Regions from separate parts of the Homo sapiens genome. Here all the other regions are linked to region 3. The links are contacts of gene promoters, found by promoter capture Hi-C in human tissues and cell types (Jung and others, 2019). All regions are on one chromosome and are shown on one strand. Each heading gives the region's core, a stretch centred on a gene start or on the middle of the fragment in contact. The rest is flanking DNA. Distances are from core to core; before and after follow the strand shown. Region 1 overlaps IGSF21 (immunoglobin superfamily member 21). Region 2 has its middle 110 kb from the start of LINC01654. Region 3 holds the start of IGSF21 (immunoglobin superfamily member 21).

Region 1 (3,941 bases), core at 974-3,473, 140 kb after region 3:
AAGAGTGAGGAAGGGACAGTGGGCATGGCAAGTAGAGGTGAGAGCAGGTGCAAAGGCCTGGGGGTGGCCCATCTGACTCCCATCAGGCGCTCAGTGAAGGGTCAGGAAGAGGGGAGGCAGGAGGAGGAGGCTGAGGGCAATCAGGGACCTATGCCAAGTCTGGGGTGCCCTGCAATGGAGCTTGAGCTATATCCAAGGGGAACAGTCAAGAAATTTTAAACACAAAAGCATCATCATTCGATTTTAGGAAGCTCTGGACCCCTCCCTAGAGATGTCTGATAAGCATCTCAGACTTAACATGGCCAAAGCAAAGCTCTGCATTTCTTCCCTAAACCTACCCCTCCCTTAGTCTTCTCCACCTCAGCGAACGGCATCACCATCCACCAGTTTCCGAAGCGAAAAATCTAGGGCGTCTCTCCTATCACATCTCATCCCTTGCCCCTGCCCACTCCCCGCATCTCTTCCATCGAATCCGTTCTAAAAGACAAGCCCTGAATCCACTGCTTCTTCCCCATTCCTGGGCCTCCAAGCCAGCTGAAGCCTCTATCACTACTTCAAGTCAGCACCCTCCTGATCACACTCTCTGCTTCCACTCTTGTCCCCTCAGCCCCCAAATCCAGTATCCACCAAGCAGCCAGAGTGACCTTTTGAAATCAGAACAGTCTTATCATTCCTCAGTTTTGCCTGATACTTAACAATAAAACCCGGGAGGCACCACCCGGTCTGGCACTGCCCCTTTCTGGCCTCGCCCACTCCACTACCTCCCACCACACCAGCCTCATTTGGGTTCTGTAAACAGGAGCCAGCCCACACCTCCAGATCCACGATGTGCAGGCCCTTGTGTTGGGTGCTGCTGGGATTTCAAAGATGAGCAGCATGAACCCTGAGGAGCGAGCATATGGACCAGCAGTGAAGATGCTGCTTTGCCAAGGTGCCTCTAGAGACAGAAAGATCCAAGAGCAACTCCTGCCTCCACCTCTTCCTCTGTCACCTCCCCCATTCTCCATATCTGTGTCTATAAAATGGGATGGTGATAATAGCACTGACCTCGTGGAGGGCCATGACAGCAACCATGCAACCAAGCATGCCTGGAACAGTCCAGATGGCGCTTGTTATCTGAGGGTGACTGTTAAGAGCAACCCTTGTTCAGCCTCAAAAGTGCCTGATTTGGACGACAAATGACACTTTTGCCAATGCAGCATTCTGGAAGCGCTTTGCAAATGTCGTTTCTCAGGATGGTGCTCTACTTCTCTGTGCACATAGACCATGGGACAGATTCAAGGGCAGCGCTCCATGCATTGCCCCCGGTCGGGAGATTTCTTAAGCTACAACTCTGGGCAATGGTAGAAAGAGGGACGGAGCCCTAGCCTGCCAGATGAAAAGAGCTGACTTTGGAATTCACCTCCCTCTCCCTTTCCAGCATGGACCATGGGCCTTGATCCCACCTAGGTGTTGGGCTGTGATGGGCAGGACAGGAATCACGGTTTAAGGGGTTGTTGCAGGTGATGCTGGGTGGGCCTTTCTCTGTGTCTGAAAGCTCGTGAAGGAAAGGCAACCCAGTCACCCAGGAGTGGACTCAATGCCGGAACAATGGATCCCTTGCACAAGTCCAGCTGCATTGCTGACCTATGTGGCCTTTCCAAACTGTGCCATACGTAGAGCCTGTTGCTTCATCTTTCAGCAAATAGTTATTGAGAGCCCTCTGTGTCTCAGGCCTGGTGCTGGATGCTGCCACAGAGGCCCCTGCCCTGGTGGAATAAAGGAAACTGGTAATTGCACATTGATCTTCTATGCAGACATCTTACTGACACTTATCAGTGCTAATAGATTTTTTTTATTTTGATCTTTTGCATTATGATGTGAAAATATTATCTGCAAATAATAATAATAATAATACTTCTCCTCTCAATGCCTGAGAGACAGCATTTTTAAGGTAGAAAAATGTATATCCTGGAACCAGATCACTTGGATTCAAATTCCAGCATTGCCACTTAGAAGCTGTGTGACTTTTAACAAGTTACTTAACCTCTCTGTGCTCCAGTTTCCTCATCTCATGTAATGAACTTAGGACAGTGCCTGACGCTATATAAATATTGGTAGGGCTATACTTATTGAACTGATTATAATTTCTTGCCTTATTCCATTGTCTAAAATTTCCAGAATGCTTGTAAAAAAGGGTTTCCCTGTCTTATTCCTAGTTTTCATAGGAATGCATTTATAATTTTAACATTGCATATGATACTTCCTGCTGGCTTCTGATAAATATTCTTTTTTGTTATGAATAGGAAGGTTACTTCTATTCCAATTTCACCTAGAATTTTTATAAAGAAAAATTAATTAAATGCTCCTTAAAAATCTATTGAAATAATCATATGGTTTTTCTCCTTTAATTTACTAATGTAATGAATTATGTTGATGTTTTTCCTAATATTGAGCCTCCATTGGGTTTTTGTAATTTCTTTAAACAAATAGCTTGTGTAGCAAATTAAAAGAGCTCTCAAGTATTTGTTTTTTTATTATTATAAATGGGATCTTTTTCATTGGATTTTCTGTGGGTCTCTGGGATGTAAGAATGCAATTGATTTTTTGTGGCTTTATCTTGCATCCTACAAATTAGATGAATTCATTTTTTTTCTCTTTAATAAGCATGTAGTGCTTTCTCTGAGTTGTCTAGGCATCCAGTCTCCCCAGCTGATATTTTTGTTTCCTTCTTTCCTGTATTTTTAGATCTATTGCATTTAGCAATGAGCAAGCATGTGTTGAGTGCCTACTATGTGCCAGGCACTGGGCTAGGATCTGTTTCCTCTGCTGCTGTTGCTGCTGCTTGGCAGGGTGGGTGGTTGGAGTACCCTCTTCAGCTGGAATATTGAGAGCAGGGGCCTTATGAGGGAATGAATCCCAGGAGGTCCCAAACCACTTAGAGTCAGATCAGGATTCAAACACATTAACCCTCAGGTCAGGCTGCCTCCTGACCGATGACTCTCCCCTTCAAGGGGCAGGGGTAATTAACCTTGACAAAGAAGGGGAAACCAAAGCTTGGGAATGCAGCAGTCATTTCTGGCCTGGAGGTGAAGATAGATGCCCTTACCCTGCAACCTGGCCTTGAATGGTCCAGCTCTCTGACCTTCTTTTTGTTCTTGCATCTGGGACTTGCTGCTATTAAACAGGAGTGAAAGTCCCAGTTATATTTTGTTTCTCTTGAGCAGCATCCCAGCTCTGGGGGGTGTGAGATGGCATGGCAGCATGCTGCCATCCCAGGCCCTCCCTGAGTCTGTGAATGAGGCCCTCTTGCTTCCTGGGTGAATGTCACTAAGAGGCTGATGGCATCTCAGTGCCCAGTGGGCCCCCCTCACTGCCTGGCATGACTCTTGCTGCCTCAGGTCCCACCCCTTCCTGCCTATAGATTTGCCCTTGGTTTTTGAGCTAATTACTCCGTCTCATCACTGCACTGACTCTTCCCAGCATCTGACAGCCCTATGAGCGTGTATCTTGTAATCTCCCTTCACCTAACACAAGTCAGCTTAATTATGCATGTGGAGCTTAGGACTCCAACCTCCAGGCTCATACTCTGCAATTATTTCTGTGGTCTTGTCCCCTCTGGCTTCCTGCAAAGATGGCAGCTGGTGTCTTGCTGTGGAGTCCCTGGAGTTACACCCTACACGGGGTGCCTGACTGAGAAGGCAGAGGGAGCTAGCTCGGTATGTGCTGTAATCTCCAAACTCCATGCTTGGGACATCTTTTATTAATTCACACTAAATTGCAGTGTGGTTTGTGGCAACCTGTCTAGCGCACCCTGGCGGCACCAAAGAGCTGCCCTGTCCACACCAACAACAGGCTTGGGAGCCTCCCAGGATCCCGGGAAGTCCTCAGGCTCTGCACCCTGCCCCAGGCTCTTGGCAGACTCTGTGAAGCTCAACACATCTGAGTTTGGAAGCTGCTTT
Region 2 (4,300 bases), core at 1,520-4,019, 150 kb before region 3:
AGCCAGGGTCAGGGAGCCCTGGAGATGCACCTGAGAGGCAGCCTCTTGGGGCACAGAGCCAGGCACAGAAGCACAGGGCAGGGGTCTGGAAGGGCAAACAGAGAAAGCCCAGCACAGAGAAGAGGAGAAAGAAAGAGCAGCAGACTCATAGAAAGATGGGTTGGGGCGGACGTGGTGGCTCACACCTGTAATCCCAGCACTTTGGGAGGCCAAGGTGGGTGGATCACCGAGGTCAGGAGTTCGACACCAGCCTGGCCAACATGGTGAAGCCCCGTCTCTACTAAAAATACAAAAATTAGCTGGGCATGGTGGCGCGTGCCTGCAATCCCAGCTACTAGTGGGGCTGAGGTAGGAGGATTGCTTGAATCTGGGAGGCAGAGGTTGCAGTGAGCTGAGATTGTGCCACTTCACTCCAGCCTGGGCAGCAGAGTGAGACTGTCTCCAAATAAAAGAAAATAAATAAATAAATAAATAAATAAATAAATAAATAAATAAAGACGGGCTGGAGGAGGAGGGGAAGTTAGAAGGTAGAGACAGGAACAAGAAAAGCTGACCCAGGGCAATGGAGATTGACATTTAGGAAAGAAAAGGGCCATCAGCCGGGGATGTCACCTGTGCTGATTGGCCTTGGGTTTCCTTAGAGCCATGGGACTGGGGCCCTGCACAAAGCCTTTTTGTCCCTACAGGCAGGGCCCAGTCACCAAGCCAGAGCCCTGGGTGGCTGCAAACCCTGTTTCCCTCCACAGAGGCGTTTGTCCCCTCCCTCATGGTGACACATGCCAGACAGTTAAAAGAAAATTCCTGCTTTTGGGTTTTAATCTAATTAATTGCAGGCATTCCTGCCCCATCTTGCCATTCCCTCTGGGAGCCAGGGTTGCCCTGAGGATAAGGCTTTTGTCTTCTGAGCATCCTAATGCTAGCTGGTGGCTGGACCTCCTGCCACTCTACCTGGACTGAATTAAACCTGTGGGCCAGGACCTCAAAGGTGAGCCTTCAGGATGCTGGGTCCAGAGTGCAGGCCTGGGTGCCCTAAGCCAGCTCCTGGCTGGTGATGTGGCTTAGGAGGGTCCAGGTCTAGAAGATACCCCCCGACCCCTGTGCCCCCAGGTGATATGGGGTGATCAGGGAATGAAGTTTTTGCATTCTGATGTGCTTGAAGAAATGTTTCCCCCAGGTTATGGGGCTTCAAACTCTGTTTAAGGACTTTTGGGAAGAGAGAGAGGTGGTGGGAATCCGTGCAGGTAAGTCCAGAAAAGACCTGGGCAACACGGGGGACCTTCAGGTTGCTGCCAGCATTTTTTTTTCTTTTTTCTTTTCTTTTTCTTTCTTTCTTTTTTTTCTTTTTTTTTGAGATGGAGTCTTGCCCTGTCACCCAGGCTGGAGTGCAGTGACGCGATCTCGGCTCACTGCAACCTCTGCCTCCTGGGTTCAAGCGATTCTTCTGCCTCAGCCTGCTGAGTAGCTGGGTCTGCAGGTGCACACCACCACACCCGACCAATTTTTACATTTTTAGTAGAGATGGGGATTCATCATATTGGCCATGCTGTTCTCGAACTCCTGACCTCGTGATCCACCCACTTCGGCCTCCCAAAGTGCTGGGATTACAGGTGTGAGCCACCATGCCCGGCCGCTGCTGGCATTTTTTTGGTACCACTGAAGCCCAGTGTGCAAGGCAGCTGCCCAGAAGCATCTCTGCTTCTCTCTCCTGGAGCAGCGGAGAGCACAGCCTCTCCCAAAGTAGCCCAAACTTAGTCTCAGTGAGGGGAAGAGCAGGGAAATTAACACTGATCAAGCTTTCTAGCTGGTGCTGGAAGCCCTCTCCAACTAGCAGGAGTTGAGTAGAGTCTGGAGCCAGATGCTCGGGGTTGAACTGGCTCTGCCTCTGACCAGCTGTGCTTCTCCTTGGGCAAGTTGCTTAACCTCTCCGTGTCTACTCTAAAGGATTGTGATGAACAGTGAATAAAGCACACAGGTAAAGTGTTTGGATCAGAGCCTGTTAAACTGAGATGCTAGGTCCATGTTAGCTATTCTCCTGTTTCTTCTTTTAGACATTCCCCAAACCCCACAGGTGTGTCCTAGTAGGATCCTCATTTTATAGATGAGGAAAGTGAGGCCCAGGAGGGACATGACTCACTCAAAACCACGAAGCTGAGGAGGGGCACAGTGGGGCCACACTCAGGCCTGACTTGTGCCCGGCCTGTCCCTCTCCTGCTTCCTGCATCTGCAGCTGGGTGTGGCTAAGCACAGAGGGAAGGAAGAATTGAGGGTTCTGAAGGCTCCCAAGAGGTCCTCCTTGCTCCCCCAAGTCCCTTAACTGAGGCAGTGCTGTGGCACATCCCAGACTCACACGGACAGCCTGTCCCTTGTTCACATGCCAGGCCAGCAGAGAAGGGGAGCAGCCCTTCTCCTTGCTTCTCAGACTGTCAGATGCACTCCAGCTCAGGGAGGCAAGCAGCCAGCATGGGACTTCCCATTTCCTCACTAGAGGAGCATCTGTCCAGCTTCTCTGACAGGCTGCCCACTGTCTCTTGGCTCAGGAGCCAGGGAGACTGGTACCCGAGGATGGTTGACAGAACCTGTGGGGAGGGTGACAGGTAGTGGCCAGCCCCAGTGCCCACAGACAAGCTTTCCGCCCTGACAGCTGACTTTGATGGCCCAGCCTGGCTATCCTGACTCTAAGATCCATGAGAAAATCTCCCAGAATGGGTCAGATGAGAACAGGCTAGATGGGAAGGATGGAATTTACAAATGCTATTGTATTAGGGTGAGGATAGTAAAGCAGGCCTGTTGAGCCAGATTCCCCTTGCTGTGCCGCGAGTGAAAACCTCTGACTCTTATAATCTTTTTTTTTTTTTCTGAGACGTAGTCTCGCTCTGTCGCCTAGGCTGGAGTGCAGTAGCGTGATCTCAGCTCACTGCAAGCTCCGCCTCCTGGGTTCACACCATTCTCCTGCCTTAGCCTCCGGAGTAGCTGGAACCACAGGCGCCCACCACCTAAATAATTAGGCACTAAAAAATTAGCACCGGCTAATTTTTTTTTTTTTTTTTTTTTTTTTTGTATTTTTAGTAGAGACGGGGTTTCACTGTGTTAGCCAGGATGGTCTTGATCTCCTGACCTCGTGATCCGCCTGCCTCGGCCTCCCAAAATGCTGGGATTACAGGCGTGAGCCACTGCATCTGGCCTTCTGACTCTTCTAATCTTAGAGTTGGGAGTACAAGGTGGAGATTTCTTGGTACTATTACTTCATTTTCCAGATGGGGAAACTGAGGCTTAGAGATTGGAGATGGGTTACTTACTCAAGGCCACACAGCAAAACCTACATGACTGAGCTGGACTTAGAGCCCACATTTCTAGAGTCATAGACCAGCCTGTCTCCGAAGAGCTTTCCAGTCCTAGCCAGCATCAGGTCTCTGCCAAGCCAGCCTCCCATACCCCTGCCCCACCATGCCAAAAACAGTAGCTAATATGTATTGAGCACTTACTATGTGGCAGTCTCTGTTCCAAATGCTCTATAAGTATTCAGTTACTTTATCTCACTTCTTAGGAAGTAGTGGTATTATCCCCATTTCACACATGGGGAAACTGAGTCACAGAGAATAACTTGCCCAAAGTCATCCTACTAGAAAATGGCAGAGTCGGGATTTGAACCCAGACCATAGGGCTCCAGATTCAAAGTGACTGACAGCTTAGGAAGAGACAGCTTCCCAGGAGCCAATGCCCATTGCCCTCAAGTCGTTACCCACTTACAATCTAATTGCTTTTACGTGCTGCTGAATTCCTTTATAAAAGTCTTCTTTACTATGTCTTAATTGGAGAGTCCCAGGGCCAAAAAGTAGACAGATTCAAAGTGGTTTCATGAAATATAATACAGGAAAATGATATTCATCTGTGGGAAAAATCCTACAGCTAAAGGGAAAAAGATCAGAGCAAAGAGCCACAGAGAAAACTTTTGTCTGGTGACTGGCCTGGGACAGAAGTCGAGACAGGGATCTTTGGTGACTGCTTGGTCCCTCCTCGATGTGTAAACTTGCTGTCTTCCCACCCATCCCTGGACCTCAGGATCTGTAAAGGGGGGGTGTTGATCTAAGAGATTTTCTGTTTCAAGGCCCTTCCAGCTCTGAAGTTGGAGGGTGGGGTGAGCTCCTTTGGACAGTTCCTCTATTGCACAATGGGTTTGCATGAGAAAGGCCCATTGAGAATTCCCTGCCCTTTTCACAGGAATCTGCTCTCAAGTGAGGTTTTCCCACCTATCGTGGGGCTGGACAATTCCTTTTGTAGGGAAGATCCCCTTAGGTCTAAC
Region 3 (3,874 bases), core at 1,270-3,769:
ATGGGCCCAGTCAGAATATGTGATCCTGGCGCTCCAAGGAGGTTCACTGCCACAGGACGCCTACCAAGTGCCAGACTTGTGCAAGGAGCTGAGGAACAGAGTGGATAAGACTGAATGACCTACCCTCATTCATTCATTCATTCATTCATTCATTCACGCATTCATCCAACTGGTATTTATTGAGGATCCACTATGTGTCAGGCACTGGCTAGGCATAATAATAATTATAATACAGGGTGATGTTAAAGAGAATTGAGGTGATTCAGAAGTCTTGGGGCTGAAGGAGATCTCCAACACACCAGCCCCAATCCTTGGTCCTAGGAAGCAACCCTCCCTTGGCTGTTAGGCCTGCTTTCCTCCTCACTAGCATATCCTCAGATGCCATTCTCTAGCTCCTTCTGCTGGCTCTCTTTTCTAGCTGGTGTGAACCATGGCTGGGAAGAAACATCACTAAGGGGCCCTGGAATCCCACCTGCTCCCTGGCCCTCATCTCCAAGGGCTGGGCTGCAGGGAGCGCAGCCAGGAAGCCCCACCAATTCAGGGTTCACCTGAGGAACTGATGCTGTCCACCTGCCTAGCTGCACGCCGATTTGCAGCTGGGGCCAGAGAGTAGGAATGCCCACACAGCGATGCTTGGCATTTCCCTGCACAACTCAGACCAGCACAAGGAACCGCATGAACCTGATGCTGTTCCCCAGCCAGGGAGCCCCTTCCACAGAGGATTTAGAACCTGGGATGGACTTTTGGGTTTGTTGACTTTTTCTTGGGTCAGAGTGGGGAGGGAGGGCCAGGGAGGAGGCAGTAAGGGACTGTGCCCTGCAGCCTGAGAAGAAGGTGAGGGGGAGAGGTGACCTCAAGCTGACCCTCAGCAGCCTGGAGAAGGGGAGACCTGGGTGGATGCGAGTGAGAGGGAGCAAAGAACAGCAGCCAAAGGGAGAAGAAAGGACCTAAGACTCCAGTGTTCATCAAGTGTTCAAGCCATATGCAGTCCAATCAACCTGGAACCAATTAGTCTGATTCACAAAAAAAAAAAAAAAAAAAAAAAAAAAAAATCCCACTTAGGGACAAACTGTAATCAAACACCTATTTATAAGGGTTTATTATGATCATTATTATTATTTTACTGAGAGGATCATTCTAAAGCCTGTCAGGTGAACGTATGCTTTCAGATCTTCATAAATGCAAATCGCTCCTTCTGGGGTGGGTGAGCAAGCTGAGCCGCAGAGCTGCCTTGGGAGGCGATGGGGTGAGGTTCCAGAGGGCAGGAGGAGGGAGCAGTTCACTTTCATGGACATCTCTGCACAAAGCTCACCCAGAGGCAGCCCAGCAACCACCCATTGCCCACCCCACTCCCTACACTCCTCTCAGAGGGCTGCTGGAGATGGAACTGGCTATAGACCCATTGCCCATGTAGGTAAACGATGCAACAGCCTGACTCAGCAACCTGCCAGAGCTAGGGAAGCTGGAGATTCTCCATAGAAGGCCTGGGTAAAGGGACCCACCTGAGTTCTGAGCAGGTTTTGCCCCTGGTCGTGCTGGTTTTTCTGGGCTTTGCCAATCTTCTGGGTCCCTACCAATGGTGAAATTCTATCTCCTGAACTTCCTCATCTAACCACATCCCCAGTCCACTCCAAGGGCTAGAGTACCCCTCCCCTTCATCCTCGCAGGAGGCCTCAAAGTCCACCGCCAGGGCTGAGGCTCAATGGTGTGTGTGTGTGTGTGTGTGTGTGTGTGTGTGTGCTCGCGTGTGTGTTGGTGGGAGAGTAATGGTAACATACAAGTCCCAAACCTGTTCTTCTCGGACCTGGGAAGAAAAGCTGTCAGGTCTGGCAAAAAGGTGGAAACTTGGTCTCTGCCAGGAGGAAACAATCAGTTCCTCACCCTTCCTGGCTGGATCCTAGCACATGGGAAAAAGACAGAACACACCCCATTTCCGTGGGTCCCTGGGGGAAGGAGCAGCCGTAATTGGGGAAGTTTCAGAACATGGAAACCCCTTAATCTTGCCCAATGAGGGCATTCATCGTTGGCAAGGTCAGAACTCCAGAGCCACACCCTGCCTGCCCTGCTCCCAGGATGGCATCTTTCCCTCTCGGGAGGGAGGCTGCCTCCTTTCATCAGGCTGAGTAGCGGGGAGGGCGATGGTAATCCCGGGGATAGGAGGGGCTAGGTAAAGGCGGATCCGATGGAGCATAGCTTCCAGGGCGGGGTGTTGGGTCACCTGGGTAAGGGTTAAGAAGCTGGAGGCAGCAAGCCAGTTTTGAGTGAGGGGGGACCTGAGTGAGGGGAGAGGGGAGGTTAGGAGGGGGTGAGCTCTCCTTCTCCCTGCAATAAATCGGCTTAGCGGACGAGAGCCGAACAGCCCAGAAAGGATTAAAGAAAAGTCTGTATAATACGCGGAGAGCGCGGCGAGGGGAGGGCAAGGAGGGCGGGGGGGCGGGGAGAGGGGGAGGGACGGAGGGAGGGCGAGAGGAGGGGGGTGCTCGCGCCGCCGGGAGAGGCGAGCGCGAGGCAGAGAGCGCGATTCGGCTCCAAACTCCGGCGCTGCAGCCGATCGGACTCTGGGCCGCGGTGGGCACCGCGCGCAGCTAGGGAGCCGAGAACCGCGGCGAGCCCCGAGGACGCCCAGAGCGCGAGGGTCGCTGCGCCTCGCAGAGCCGGAGCCGAGTCGAGCCGGGCGCCCGGGCTGCCTGGCCGCGGCGGCATGGGGGCGCCCCCGCGGCTCTCCGCGCTGCCCGCCACCGCCTCGGCCAGTGGCCGGAGGCAGGAGCGCGTCTGAGCCCATGGCGAGGGGACCCGCCGCCACCGCCTCCACCCCCGCCGCCCCGCCACCGCCGCCAGCTCCCGGGCACCATGCGAACCGCCCCGAGCCTCCGCCGCTGCGTCTGCCTGCTGCTCGCCGCGATCCTGGACCTGGCGCGCGGTGAGTGCGCGGGCGCCTGGCGGGAGCCGAGCGGTGAACGTGCGCGGGGACGGGGTGCCGGGGGAGGGCGCTGGCCGGGGTCGCTCCGAGAGGCTCGGGCTACGAGCACCGGTCCTGCCCGGGGTCTGTGGAGCTGGTTGGCTCGATGAGGGAGGGAGGACGCCTCTTGGAGAGCGCTCATGGATTTGTGCCAGGGTGTGTGTGTGTGTGTAAATTGTGTGTCTTTGTTGTGTGTCTGGGTGAGGGTGTCCGGGAAGGAGCTGTGTGGGCAGAAGGTGCGGGAGTGTATTTAGAGATGCAAGTGTGTGTGTGCGTGTGTGTGTGATGGTGTGGGGTCTGCGTGTGAGTGAGCGAGGGTCTGGATGGGTGTTAGAGTGTCTGTGTCAGTTACATGGAGAAGGTGTGTGTGTGAGAGTGTGAGCGAATGTTGGGGGGAGGGTGTGAACATGTGCCACCTTCCCTGTGAGGGTGTGAAGTGTGTGAGCTTGTGTCACTGTGGGTGTGAGGTGTTAGGGGGTGGGTATGTGAGGTTTGGCGTTTCACGTGTGTCCCGAGTGTGCAGGTCTCTAGGGGTGTACGACAGCGGATTACTATTTCTGTGTGCACAGGAGATGGGACTGTGACACTGGACAAGAGTCTGCTTATGTGGGATGGGTGGGGGTGCAGGTGCCTGGGAGTCGTGGGCTTCATGGGGCTGGGAGTGTGTGTATGCGTGCCATGGAGCGTGTGGTTATCGTGTGCAGGGAGGTATGGACGCTTCCGGGGCTGGGGAGTTGTGAGCAGCTCAGTGTGTGTGTGTGTGTGTGTGTGTGTGTGTCCCGCCGTGTGGACTTGCTCCCGGGTTAGGCTAAGACAGCTAGAAGGAGGTTGAAGCCGAGCGGGTTCTCCGGAGCCAGTGAGAGGTGGCTCCGCAGCCCCAGGGTCCGCGGCCGGCCTCCCACCCAGTGCCGCCGC

What was found. The method cuts DNA at HindIII sites, captures the fragments that hold promoters and counts their contacts. A contact is called where the count stands out against the background at its distance.
Region 1: a contact is called between a fragment that was not itself captured here and the fragment with the promoter of IGSF21 in region 3, in 1 of the 25 tissues and cell types used here (hippocampus).
Region 2: a contact is called between a fragment that was not itself captured here and the fragment with the promoter of IGSF21 in region 3, in 2 of the 25 tissues and cell types used here (liver and spleen).

The regions. Positions count from the first base shown.
Region 1 is chr1:18,242,931-18,246,871 of GRCh38, forward strand. All of the region lies in intron 2 of IGSF21 (immunoglobin superfamily member 21), which reads left to right. Among named protein-coding and RNA genes, the nearest start is that of IGSF21-AS1, 69 kb to the left of the region's middle. The HindIII fragment of the contact is 8,753 bases long and covers 1-3,941 here.
Region 2 is chr1:17,953,630-17,957,929 of GRCh38, forward strand. No RefSeq gene overlaps it. Among named protein-coding and RNA genes, the nearest start is that of LINC01654, 110 kb to the right of the region's middle. RefSeq lists an enhancer at 1-465. The HindIII fragment of the contact is 4,529 bases long and covers 506-4,300 here.
Region 3 is chr1:18,105,279-18,109,152 of GRCh38, forward strand. It overlaps IGSF21 (immunoglobin superfamily member 21), which reads left to right and starts at 2,520. Exons shown (of 10, transcript NM_032880.5): 1 at 2,520-2,920. The coding sequence starts at 2,851. The HindIII fragment of the contact is 17,740 bases long and covers 1-3,874 here.